2 separate regions of the Homo sapiens genome follow, and region 2 is linked to region 1. Evidence: promoter capture Hi-C in 16 types of primary human blood cells and fetal thymus (Javierre and others, 2016). All regions are on one chromosome and are shown on one strand. Each heading gives the region's core, a stretch centred on a gene start or on the middle of the fragment in contact. The rest is flanking DNA. Distances are from core to core; before and after follow the strand shown.

The links. Contacts are between HindIII fragments. The CHiCAGO score rates a contact against its expected background, and 5 or more counts as called.
Region 2: a contact is called between a fragment that was not itself captured here and the fragment with the promoter of ZNF350 in region 1, in 1 of 17 cell types (non-activated CD4 T cells). The highest score is 5.0, in non-activated CD4 T cells.

The regions. Positions count from the first base shown.
Region 1 is chr19:51,982,508-51,989,229 of GRCh38, forward strand. It overlaps ZNF350 (zinc finger protein 350), which reads right to left and starts at 4,333. Exons shown (of 5, transcript NM_021632.4): 1 at 4,263-4,333. RefSeq lists enhancers at 3,798-4,673, 4,260-4,499. The HindIII fragment of the contact is 6,623 bases long and covers 3,798-6,722 here.
Region 2 is chr19:52,946,001-52,952,722 of GRCh38, forward strand. All of the region lies in intron 3 of ZNF816-ZNF321P (ZNF816-ZNF321P readthrough), which reads right to left. ZNF816 (zinc finger protein 816) reads right to left here. Exons shown (of 4, transcript NM_001202457.3): 4 at 3,385-5,584. The coding sequence ends at 3,819. LOC124904761 (a long non-coding RNA gene) reads left to right here and starts at 728. Exons shown (of 2, transcript XR_007067329.1): 1 at 728-804; 2 at 1,445-2,056. The HindIII fragment of the contact is 1,673 bases long and covers 3,624-5,296 here.

The DNA of each region.
Region 1 (6,722 bases), core at 3,083-5,582:
ATTAGATTTACTGAGATAAATTTTAACAGTTTTAAATAAATGCAAAGATGTACTATAAAGATGGGCTGGAAAACAAAGCATTTTAAAAATGTCAAGTCTCCCAAATCTACAGATTCAATGAAATCACAGTCACAATCCCAAACTGATACTGAAAAGTTTAAATAGCTATAAACTTTTTTTTAAAGTTTGAAAAAAAAGTTAGAAGACTTGCCATATCAGTTATGAGGACTTATAAAGCTACTTTAATTAGGACAGCACAATATTAGTACAATAACAGGCAAATAGGACAAAGGAACAGAATAAAATCCTTATAAGCAGAATTAAGCACATATAGAGACTCAATGGCAATGATAGCACTACAGGGAAGTAGATAAAAGCTGTCTTTTCAATAAATGGAACTAAGGGCGCCGTGGCTCACGCCTGTAATCCTAGCACTTTGGGAAGCTGAGGAAGGTGTGGGGGAAAGAGAGATCAGACTGTTACTGTGTCTATATAGAAAGAGGAAGACATAAGAAACTCCATTTTAATCTGTACAAAGAAAAGTTCCTCTGTCTTGAGATACTGTTAATCTGTAACCCTAGCCCCAACCCTGTGCTCAGAAACGTGTGCTGTGTTGGCTCAAGGTTTAATGGATTTAGGGCTGTGCAGGACGTGCTTTGTTAAAATGTGTTTGCAGGCAGTATGCTTGGTAAAAGTCATCACCATTCTCCAGTCTCAAGTACCCAGGGACACAATGCACTGCGGAAGGCCGCAGGGACCTCTGCCCAAGAAAGCCTGGGTATTGTCCAAGGTTTCCTCCCACTGATACAGCCTGAGATATGGTCTCGTGGGAAGGGAAAAACCTGACCATCTCCCAGCCCAACACTCGTAAAGGGTCTGTGCTGAGGAGGATTAGTGAAAGAGGAAGACCTCTTTACAGTTAAAATAAGAGAAAGCCATCTGTCTCCTGCTCCTCCCTGGGAATGGAATGTCCCGGTATAAAACCCAATCATACATTCTATTTACTAAGATAGGAGAAAACCACCTTATAACTAAAGGTGAGACATACTGGCGGCAATACTACTCTTTACTACACTAAGATGTCTGTGTAAAGTCAAACATAAATCTGGCCTACGTACACATCAAGGCACAGGACCTTTCCTTAAACTTATTTATAACACAGAGTCCTTTACTCACATGTTTTCCTACTGACCCTCTCCCCACCATTACCCTATAGTCCTGCCACACCCCCCTCACCAAGATGGTAAAAATAGTAATCAATAAATACTAACAAAACTCAGAGACCAGTGCCGGTGTGGGTCCCCCATATGCTGAACACCAGTCCCCTGGGCCCACTTTTCTTCCTCTGTACTTTCTCTCTGTGTCTGATTTCTTTTCTCAGTCTCTCATTTCCACCTTGCAAAAAATACCCACAGGTGTGGAGGGGCAGGCCCCCTTCAGGCAGGTGGACCACTTGAGCCAGAGTTGGAGACCAGCCTGGCCATCATGGTGAAACCCCATCTCTACTAAAAATACAAAAATTAGCCAGGCAAGGTGGCACCTGCTGGTAATTCCAGCTACTCGGGAGGCCGTGGCACAAGAATCACTTGAGCCCAGAAGGCAGAGGTTGCAGTTGAGCCAAGCACGCCACTACACTCCAGCCTGGGCGACGAGAGCAAGACTCTATCTAAAAAAATTAAAAAAAAAAAAAAAAATCAATAAATGGTACTGGGGATGGGGACAGAAAGTTAAAACCCCCCTCACAACATACACAAAAACCATTTTAGAATCAACTGTCAATTTCAATGGTAGAAACATATCAATAAAGCTTTAAAGAACATTAATATAGGAGAATCTCTCAATGTTATTAGGGTATGGCCAGATATTTTAAAGAGGCCACATAAAGCACCCTATAAAGCAAACTATATCCTGCTAGGGGAACTGTAAGTGGTACAACCACTTTAGAAAACAGTTTGACATCTATTTAGACGGAGTTTATACACACTCTATGAAGCAGCAATTTTCCTCCGAGGTGCACATCTAGATATACATCTCTGCCTCCCCCATATGAGAGCACATATGAACCAAAAGACATTTACACAAATTTTCACACATGCATTATTCTTAATAATACAAGCTTTAGGTAATACAAATGTAATTAATAATAGAAAAAACTGCTATATTTTACATAATGGAATGTGATAGAAAACCTATTATACCTTTGGTCCAGCCTGCAAGAATGCTTTTTACATTTTTGAAAGACTGTAAAACAAAAAGCAAATTAGCATATGCAAGAGACCATATGTAGCCTGCAAGCCCTAAAATATTTACTGTAAATTCGCCTGATCCTTGTCATTGAGCAAAGAAAATATACTCAGATGCAACAGGAAAGACCCTCACCAATAATGAGCAAAAGAAGGCTGACACAAAAAAAGAGTGATGTACAATTCCACTGATATACAGAGTTTAAAATAGGCAAAACTGTATTAACTACAATGATAAATAATGATTAATTATATAAAGAAAAGCCTAAAATACTTTTCGGTGTGAGAATGGAAAAAGACTCACAGAACACCACTGGTGTGCTGACCATATTCTATTTCTTGACCTGGGCAATGACTGCTTATACATATATTGCCTCCATGATAATTAAATTGTACATTTAAAATATATAAATGTAGAAAAATTAACAAAGTAAAGGAAGAGATCAACCATACCAAACAGTTTACCTCCAGGAAAGGTGTTAACTCCAGACAACACAACGGGTGAATTTTACAGGTGGGTAATAAAACAAGAACGTCCACTAACACCCTATTTTCCTACTTTATACTGGAAAGTTGAGCCAATGCATTAAGATAAGAATGAATTATAAGCATTACAAAGTAAGACAGAAAATTAATGTTATTTTCAGGCGATATCATCACGAACATGGAAAAAGAGATTCAAGAAATTACATATTTAAAAAAGAAAATGCTCCCTCAGAAACTCCCAGGCAGATTTTCACATACATAGTTGGCTAGAATTGCACCATACGCCTAAGCTCATTTCCATGTCAAACCTATCACTAGCAATGGCAATTGGAACCAGCAAGATTGGCTAAGACCAACAAGGCCTTACTAAGAAACTGGGATTTGGGTCGCCTTGCCACAGGGATGAATACTTCACGAAATGGAGATTCTGTTAAGAAAGTGTGAATATAAGGCGGGCAAGCAACACTCACTATATATTAAGAAGTGAAGGCCGGGCGCGGTGGCTCACGCCTGTAATCCCAGCACTTTGGAAAGCCAAGGTGGGCGGATCACCTGAGGTCAGGAGTTCGAGACCAACCTGCCCAACGTGGTAAAACCCTGTCTCTACTAAAAATACAAAAACTAGCCGGGCGTGGTGGCGTGGGCCTGTAGTCCCAGCTACTCAGGAGGCTGAGGCAGGAGAATCGCTTGAACCCGGGAGGCGGAGATTGCAGTGAGCCGAGATCGCGCCATTGCACTCCAGTCTGGGAGACAAAAGTGAAACTCCGTCTCAAAAAATAAAAAAAATAAATAAAAAATAAAAGAAGTGAATGCAGAGGTTGGCAACATTTTCGATTTTGCCGGCCACGAGGTCTCTGTCACAACAACTCAACCGCTGCCTTTGCAGCCATAGACAATATATAATCGGAGGGTATGACTGAACTTGACCCCCCGATCTGTAAATAGCCACCCCAAGGATCAGAAGAGTAGATATATGGTTTCGAACTAATGCTGGGGGCTGTGTCGCCTTTTGCCCCAGTAACCGAGGTTCGAACCTCAACCCAGGACCCAGGGCTCCAAAGTCTCGAAAGCTTCAGCCCTCACAAGCCTTTGTACCACAGACACTGGCCCCATGCCTCTTACTCATCCGAACCACGGACCAGACACTCTACAGCGATGGACATCCTCCCAGACTCCAACATCACTGAGTTCCAAATTAAATCCTGAACCCGAAGCAGACGCCGCATCGATCCTAATCGCCACCTCCATCCTTTACAAGCAGAGTGATCCATACCTTGACAGTTAGGACACGGCCGTTGATCACTACAGACCCTTAGTCACTGTACTCACACCAAAGGCACGCGGACCACAGACAGGGGGATCACAGACTCCCACCAGGTACCTCCCAAATGCCTATACCCCGGCGCTCCCCAGTCTTCCTGCCAAAAACTATGTGGTCCAGGGTACACCACGTCCTCAGATCTCCCAAACCTTCCACTGAGACAAAACCTGAACTAGGACAAAAAACTTTCAGGGACAAAACCACACACTGACCTCTATTTTCTCCAGATACACAAGAAGGGCCTCAACGTTACACTTCCGTAAACTGCTCCTACTTCTGGAGTCCTCGCACGGGTTTATGGTCCACCTACGGCGGCCGAGGAGAACCTAAAATGTTTAAAAGAGCAAGGACAAGCGCATTTACGGCATTTCCTACTCTGTAAAATGGCCGCGCCCATAGCCGTGGCTCCTGACGGCAGCCATGTTTGAAAATTGGACGCACAGAAGGCAGTGGCAGGTTTTTGAGCCAGGAGCCAGGGAAGAAGAGAAGTCACTGAAATCGCCTCGTTTCCTGGCACTTAAAGTCTTGCGAAAGGGGGCAGATTTTCAGAGACTCAGGCTTTATCAGGCAAATATGGGGCAAGCTAAATTGCCTTTAGCGCTTTTCCATCCACTTTGTTAAATTTAAAAAAAAAGGTTTTGAAAAAGACAAGTAACAGTGCAGCCAGGTGTAGGTATCCCAGAGAATGAATTGGAAATGGAAAAGGTAACAGATCAGGTAGAAAGGGAAAAGGCAACACATCAGGTAGGCAGACACCCACGGGAAAGCGTCTGGCGAAAATTAGCTTGCAGGAAGCGGTTTTTAAGAACAGAAAAATAGCAGGTATTCGGGGGGGCGGGTGGTGAAGAAAGAAAAAAATTATAATTTTTTTTGAGACGGAGTCTTGCTCTGTCGCCAGGCTGGAGTGCAGTGGCGAGATCTGGGCTCACTGCAACCTCTGCCTCCCTGGTTCAAGCGATTCTCCTGCCTTAGCCTCCCAAGTAGCTGGGACTACAGGCACGCGCCACCACGCCCAGCTAATTTTTGTATTTTTAGTAGAGACTGGCTTTCACCATGTTGGCCAAGATGATCTCGACCTCCTGACCTCGTGATCTGCCTGTCTCGGCCTCCCAAAGTGCTGGGATTACAGGTGTGAGCCACCGCGCCTGGCCTCGAAAAAATGATTATTATTTACAAAAAAGAAGAAGAAGAAGGAGGAAGAGGAGGAGGAGAAGGAAGAGAAAAGAGGAGAAAAGAAGAGAAAAGAGGAGAGGAGAGGAGAGAAAAGAGATTTTGAGAATGAATTACGATGTGAGCCTGGCCACGACAGACTAAAGGAATTGGGCCTCCTAGAAAGGCCACTTTTAGTAAAGGTGCCAATGGGAAGAGCAGAGCCAGAATTGAGAGTATAAAAATATTGTTAAGAGTTTTTGACAAAAGTGCCAAGACAATTCAATAAGAATAGTCTTTTCAACAAGCGGCACTGGGATAATTGGATATCCACATCCAGAAAAATGAGTTAGGACCCTCAAACCATACACAAAAGTTAACTCAAAATAGATCATAGATCTAAGTTTAAGAGAAAGTATAAAACTTAGAGAAGGAAAAGGGAGATAATCCTCATGGACGTGAGTTAATTCTGAGAGGAGAGTAAAGGATGACCCACAAAACAAAATAAAATTAATAAAGTGGACTTGATTTTTTTTTAAGTTTGTGCTTCTAAACACAACATTTAAGAAAGTGAAGTGGGGCACGGTGGCTCACACCTGTAATCCCAGCACTTTGGGAGGCCGAGGCAGGCGGATCATCTGAGGTCAGGAGTTCCAGACCAGCCTGGCCAACAAAGCGAAACCAGTCTCTACTAAAAATACAAAAATTACCCGGACGCGGTGGCGCGCGCCTGTAATCCCAGCTACTCGGGAGCCTGAGGCAGGAGAATCGCTTGAATCCGGGAGGCGGAGGTTGCAGTAAGCCGAGATCGCGCCACTGCACCCCAGCCTGGGCGACAGAGCAAGACTCCTCGGTAAAGACACCACTTCGTCACCCTGAATTACTCTGATTTTTATGGGTACAATGAGAATAGTGGACCTAGGAAGAAAAAGTTTTTAAATAGAAACCTTCAGGACAGATTTGGACTTGAAAGACTGACAGGAAGTGTTTCCAGCATCCAGTTAGTCTCAAAGCAACCACTAACCTTCAACTGCACACCTGAAAGCCTCCAGCCTCATTACATTCTCAAACACAGACAAGCCCCGTCTTCCTCTAAATAAAATTGCCTTCAAATTCAATTTAAAACTTACCACAGAGGCACTCCTTTGACACTCCTCCCCCTAGACCTTTCATTCACGCCACTCCTCTTCCTAGCTCGGGCTTCTCTGTATCTGAGCCCCATATTAAATTGCAAATCTGAGCAAAAAACAGCATTCACTGAGACACACTTTCCCCAGTTTTCTATTACTGAGACTCATGAAAAGTGAACATATAGACCTCAAGCTCTGTCCGTGGGACCCTCAGTCATTAAACTCTTAAAACTAAGCCTTAACCTTTGACATCCCAAGGGTCTCTTTCTCACACCCATATTCCTCGGTGACTAAACTGAAATAAAACCCCTGAACACGGACATTCACATGCGTTTCCACTTCATGGTCGTCCCCACAAGCTCCCCATCCGGATTCACACGCAGCATCAGGCTT
Region 2 (6,722 bases), core at 3,210-5,709, 960 kb after region 1:
CCTCCTGTGTGTAATAGGCAGTTTTGCTTGTCACTTTTCAGTTTCCATTATCCACTCAAACAACCCAGGACCTTGCTTAGTTTAATAAGCCGTTCTGTCAGTTCCCGCTGCAACCAGCGCCCCACTCCACCCCTTTACCGAGGTCCCTGCCCCTCTCCCCCGCCCTGCCCCAGACTGAGGGGAGCTCGCCCCGCCTGCAGGACGCACGACTCTACCTGCTCCAAAAAGGCGCTTTGCATTAAAACCATTTTCAATTTAAGAAGAGAAACTATTCAGCGTTCAGCACACGTGGTCTACTACAATAAGTTGTTTTACCTTCGATTGTTTGAAATGTTAACTTAAAACGGGCAGGAAGCATCCATGTGATATTAGGGGTAACATCACGGCACAAGAGAATGAATCCACCAATCAGAACTCGGAGGATCCAGTCCTAGAGGGAGAGGATGACAGCAGGAGACATCCACGGCCCAGCTGAGAAAGCCCGAACCCGCCCCCTCCAGGCCTGGCCCTTTAGAACAACCCACCTTCCAGAGCCCGCCCCCTAGACGGCGTCAACCCTCTGGCCTGGCTCCTGCCCGCAGTCCGGCCCGGCCCCCAGGCAGCCTTCTCCCTTTTGCCCCGCCCCAGGCCCCGCCCCCACAGCGGCCTCCACTCTCTCGCCCCGACCCAGCACCTGTTCAGGCCCCGCCCGCTCAGCAACCTTTTCTCTCCTGCCCTGTCCCCGCTTAGTGTCCAGAACCCTCCCAGACAGGGTCCAGGACCAGCCCATGGTTGTTCTGCACGGAGAGCCCGGGGCTGACGCAGGTGAGTGATTTTTTGTCTTTCTGCTTCAAACCTGCCTTTCTCAGCACCCCAGCCCCCAGTCCAGCCATACCAGGAATTTGGGTGCGTCGGGATGTTGAAATCCCCACGCGAGTTTGTGCAGTTGTCAGGGAGTCCCAGCTTCGCCATGGGAAGCTCGCAGACCCGGTGGCTCTGCAGCGTTTGTATCGTTTTAGCCCATGTCCTCCCCCTTTCAGGTGGCAAAATCTCGGCTCACCACAATCTCTGACTACTAGGTTCAAGCGATTCTCCTGCCTCAGGCTCCTGAGTAACTGGAATTACAGGCGCCCGCCACTACACCCAGCTAATTTTGTATTTTTAGTAGAGACTAAAAATGTTGGTTACACCATGTTGGTTATGCTGGTCTGGAAAACCCAATCTCAGGTGATCTGCCCACCTCGGCCTCCCAACATGCTGGGATTACAGGCGTGAGCCACTGCGCCCAGCCTCTAGGTAGCTTTTTTTAGTCTTTGTAGCTATGTTGTTTAGGAATAAAATGGGAGGCAGGTTTTTCTGTCCCAATTCCCAGCTTGACCTTTCTCTTTGGCTTGGTAATTTTTATTATCCTTTCACAAGCTCAGACAGACATAATGCTTTGACACAATGATATTGCTTTATATAGATTTTCCACATCAATAAAGTCCAAGGGTCTGTCATGAACTGGGTTAGAAGAGACGAGAAGATTCCCAGGAGACTCAGTCTCAAGCAATCCTCCCACCTCAGCCTCCCAAGGTGCGTGGACCACAGGTGTGATCCACTGAACACAGTGGAGTCTCCAGCTCAAAAAAACAAAACAAAGGTTAAGGTACTCTATCGAATTACGTCATTTGACTTATTTTATTTTTATTTTTTATTTATTTATTTTTTTTCTGAGATGGAGTCTTGCTCTGTCAACCCAGGCTGGAGTGCAGTGGCGCGATCTCAGCTCACTGCAACTTCCGCCTGCCGGGTTCATGCCATTCTCCTGCCTCAGCCTCCCGAGTAGCTGGGACTACAGGCGCCCGCCACCACGCCCGGCTAATTTTTTGTATTTTTAGTAGAGACGGGGTTTCACCATGTTAGCCAGGATGGTCTCGATCTCCTGACCTTGTGATCCACCTGCCTTGGACTCCCAAAGTGCTAGGATTACAGGCGTGAGCCACCACGCCCAATTGACGTTTTTTTTTTTTAAATAAAATGTTTCACATATTTATTACCGAACCTAGCCAACCAATGTGTTCGTAACAGAGTCAGAGATAAAAAATATATTCCCAATAAAACATGTCCAACTCTCCAGATAGGGGTGACATTTTCAGCTTGATATGGTTGCGTGATTGTGACCTTATTATCAGTTTTCATGCGAATCCACTGGGGAATGGAACAATTCTGCTTTTGTTTCTTGGCCAGGACTCTCTTAATCCTGAAAGTCTTGTGAGAAGACATGGCAAGAAGCCAAGTCAAGCACACACTACGATGACGGAGAGAGGAGAAGGGTCTTGATTTTTTCTTTTTTTTAGACTAAGTTTCTTTCTTTTTGCCCAGGCTGCAGTGCAATGGTGCGATCTTGGCTCGCTGCAACCTCCGCCTCCCGGGTTCAAGTGATTCTCTTGCCTCAGCCTGGCGAGTAGCTAGGTTTGGCCAAAATATGAACTAGAAAGGCAGGAACCTGGCCAAAGGTGGGGAGCTTGAATGTTATTACCTTATTCCTGCTTGACCTTTACTGCCAACGCCAACACAAATGGTCAGAGGTCCCTTATATGAAAATCTTCATGATCTTGTGGGAAAACCCTGATTTTTGTAAAGGCTGCAAAACAGGCTCAAAAATAAATAAATAAATAAAATTACATTTAAAAGAGCCAGTTGCAGTGGCTCACGCCTGTAATCCCACCACTTTGGGAGGCCGAGGTGGGTGGATCAGCTGAGGTTAGGATTTCAAGACCAGACTGACCAACATGGAGAAACACCCTCTCTACTAAAAATACAAAAATTAGCCAGGCTTGGTGGCGGGCACCTGTAATCCCAGCTACTTAGGAGGCTGAGGCAGAAGAATTGCTTGAGCCCAGGAGGCAAAGGTTGCAATGAGCCCAGACCATACCACTGCACTCCAGCCTGGGTGACAAGAGCAAGACTCCATCTCAAAACAAAAAAATAAAATAAAATAAAAAATAAATAAAAATACAAAAATTAGCATGGTGTGGTGGCATGCATCACTAATCCCAGCTACTCAGGAGGCTGAGGCAGGAGAATTGCTTGAATGCAGGAGGTGAAGGTTCCAGTGAGCTGAGATCATGTCATTGCACTATAGCCTGAGTGACAAGAGCAAGACTCCATCTCAAAAAATAAAAATAAAAAACAGGCTGGGTAAAGTGGCTCAAGTCTGTTGGCCAGGCTGGTCTCAAACTGCTGACCTCAAGTGATCTACCTGCCTTGGCCTCCCAAAGTACTGGGAAAACAGGCATGAGCCACTGCACCTGACCCATTCTTCTTAACATTAACACTTTTTATGTCAATTAATGCGTGAACTCAATGTTAAGTCAACTCAAACTCAAGTCAATGTTGAATCAACTCTAATGTCAATTAAAGTTTTATGATTTTTTATATTCATTTTATTTGGAACAATTATCTCAAAAATGAATTTTCTGATGTTCTGCATGGAATGACCACAGAGTGAAGACCTTGCCACCCTTACATTTGTAAGGCATCTGTCCAGTATGAATTCTCTGATGTCTAATGAGGTGTGAACATGAAGTAAAGGCTTTGCCACAATCATCACACTTGTGAGGTTTCTCTCCTGTATGAATTCTATGTTTTGCATAGGATGAAGCTTGACTGAAGACCTTGTCACAGTCATGATATTTGTAAGGTTTCTCTCCAGTATGAGTTCACTGATGAACTACAAGTTATGAATGACGTCTGAAAAATTTGCCACATTTATTACACTTGTAGATCTCTCTTCAATATGGATTCTGTAATGATTTGCAATGGTTGTAGCATTACTGAAGACTTTGTGACAATCATTACATTTGTAAAGTTTCCCTACACCCATGGATTGCTTGATGGTGAATAAGTGTTGACTGTCCAGTAAAGGCTTTGCCACACTCATTACACTTGTAAGGTTTCTCTGCAGTATGAACTCTCTGATGTTTTGCAAGGCTTGCTTTTTGATTAAAAACCTTGCCACATTCATTACACTTGTAAGGTTTCTCTCCAGTATGAACTCTCTGATGTTGTGCAAGGATTCCTTTTTGATTAAAAACCTTCGCACATTTATTACACTTGTAAGGTTTCTCTCCAGTATGAACTCTCGTATGGTTTGCAAGGCATGAATCACTCCGGAAAGCCTTGTCACAAACCTTACATTTGTATGGTTTTTCCCCAGTATGAATTCTCCTATGTCTTTCAAGGTGTGATCTGCGACTGAAAACTTTGTCACATTCTTCACATTTGTAAGGTTTCTCTCCAGCATGAAGTCTATGATGACGTGCAAGGTTTTCTCTTCGACTAAAAACCTTGCCACATTCATTACATGTGTAAGGTTTCTCTCCAGTGTGAAGTGTATGATGGTATTGAAGGGATGACTTCCGACTGAAACTCCTGCCACATTTATTACACTTGTATGGTTTCTCTCCAGTATGAACTCTCTGATGTTCTGCAAGGTATGAATCACTCCGGAAAACCTTGTCACAAACCTTACATTTGTATGATCCCTCTCCAGTATGAATCTTCCTATGTCTTTCAAGGTGTGATCTGCGAATGTAAACATTGTCACATTCTTCACATTTGTAAGGTTTCTCTCCAGTGTGAAGTATATGATGGCATTGAAGGGATGATTTCTGACTGAAGGTCTTGCCACACTCATTACACTTGTAAGGTTTCTCTCCAGTATGAATTGCCTTATGAATTACAAGGGCTGAATTTCGACCAAAAGTCTTGCCACACTCATTACACTTGTAAGGTTTCTCTCCAGTATGAAGTCTACGATGGCATCTAAGGGATGACTTCTCACTGAAGGTCTTGCCACACTCATTACACTTGTAAGGTTTCTCTCCAGTATGAAGTCTACGATGGCATACAAGGGATGACATCTGAGTGAAGGTCTTCCCACACTCATTACACTTGTAAGTTTTCTCACCAGTGTGACATCTATGATGATATACAATGTATTGCTTCTGATTAAAGATCTTGCCACATACATCACATTTATATTCTCTCTCTCTTGAATGGGTTATGTGGTGTCTCCTTAAGAGTGAGCTATAATTAAAGGCTTTGCCACACTCATTACTTTGGCAAGGTTTTTCTCTCATGCATATTTCCTGTATTTGTGTGAATGAAGAATGGAGGAAATTCTTCCCATACTTATTAGAAATATGAGTTTTGAGCCTACAAGAAATTCTTTGGGATTCTGAAGCTGAGGAAGCACCGATAGACTTGTCCAATTGGTTACTAATTTTCCCTTTAGTCTGAAACATGTGGAGTTCAGGCAGATGCGAATGAAAGCTTAATCCAAGCTGATCTTTAATAGGCTTGTTTCCAGCATGCCTGTGATCACTTCGGTCTGTACTACCAGTCAACTTTTTGATTTTTGTCATGGGTGCTTCATGGCCATTTCTTTCAACTTCTTGCCACTGAAACTCAAAGTGATGAATATCTTTCTTCATTTCTGGGAAGCAAAAATCTCCAATGTGATGACTTTTATGTCTTTGCAACGTCCCTGTGTGGATCACTTCTCCTGTAATACTGTGCCTGGTTGATGAGAACTCCATCATGGATTTTAAAGAGCTATCTAAAAAATATAAAGACCAATAGGTTTCCAATTAAGTACAGATGGTAAATAATAGTTGATATTCAGATGTGTAAAAATTACACAAAAAGCAATACTTATTTTAAACTTCCCAAATGTGATCTTCATAGTTTAAGAACACACTGTCTCTACTGAACATACAAAAATTAGCCAGTCATGGTGGTGGGTGCCTGTAATCCCAGCTACTCAGGAGGCTGAGGCAGCAGAATTGCTTGAAGCCAGGAGGCAGAGGTTGCAGCATGCGGAGATCACCACATTGCACTCCAGCCTGGGCAACAAGAGCAAAATTCTGTGTAGAAAAAAAAAAGAGTTCAGTCAAGAGCCTCATATATATGAGGCAGTGAGCCTGAATGATGTCCTCCCTAAGAGGAATTTCTACAGCAGTGACTACTGCTTAGAGAAGATGACCATTCGTTTATGTGATGAACACTGTCACAGTGCTAGTGAGAGATGCTTCTGTGATGGTTCTCAAAAACCAGAATGAAAGGCCAAGCATGGTGGCTCACGCCTGTAATCCCAACACTTCGAGGCTGAGGTGGGCAAATTGCTTGAGGCCAGGAGTTCAAGACCAACTTGGCCAACATGGTGATACCCTATGTCTAATAAAAATATGAAAATCTGCCAGGTATGGAGGCATGTGCCTGTAATTCCAGTTAGGTTGAGAGGCTGAAGTACAAGAATTGCTTGAACTCAGGATGCAGAGGTTGCAATAAGATGAGATCAAGACTCTGCACTCCAGTCTGTTCAACAGAGGGAGACTCTGTCTGAAAACAAACAAACAAAAAGAAAACAAAACCACAAGCACAGCTGGAAACACTTGTCAATCAGTGTCATGCTTTCTATCTCGTATCCTGGGCCATGCTGACCATTCTGCTCAGGGCTTCCAGGGACATCTCTTCCTAGAGCAGGATGATGTTCAATTGTATTAGTCAAAGTGTTCGTGAATTTTCTGTTTTTATGTAAAACCACTCCAAAGAAGAGTCTCTAAGAAGCTGTCCATGACAGATAGGAGGGTCATCACCGCAGAAAACAATGACATGTACATCAAAAGCATGTATGGGGCAAAATCACAAAAGAGAATATAAAACCAGAAAGAGCCAAGATAGACAAGTGCAGATTC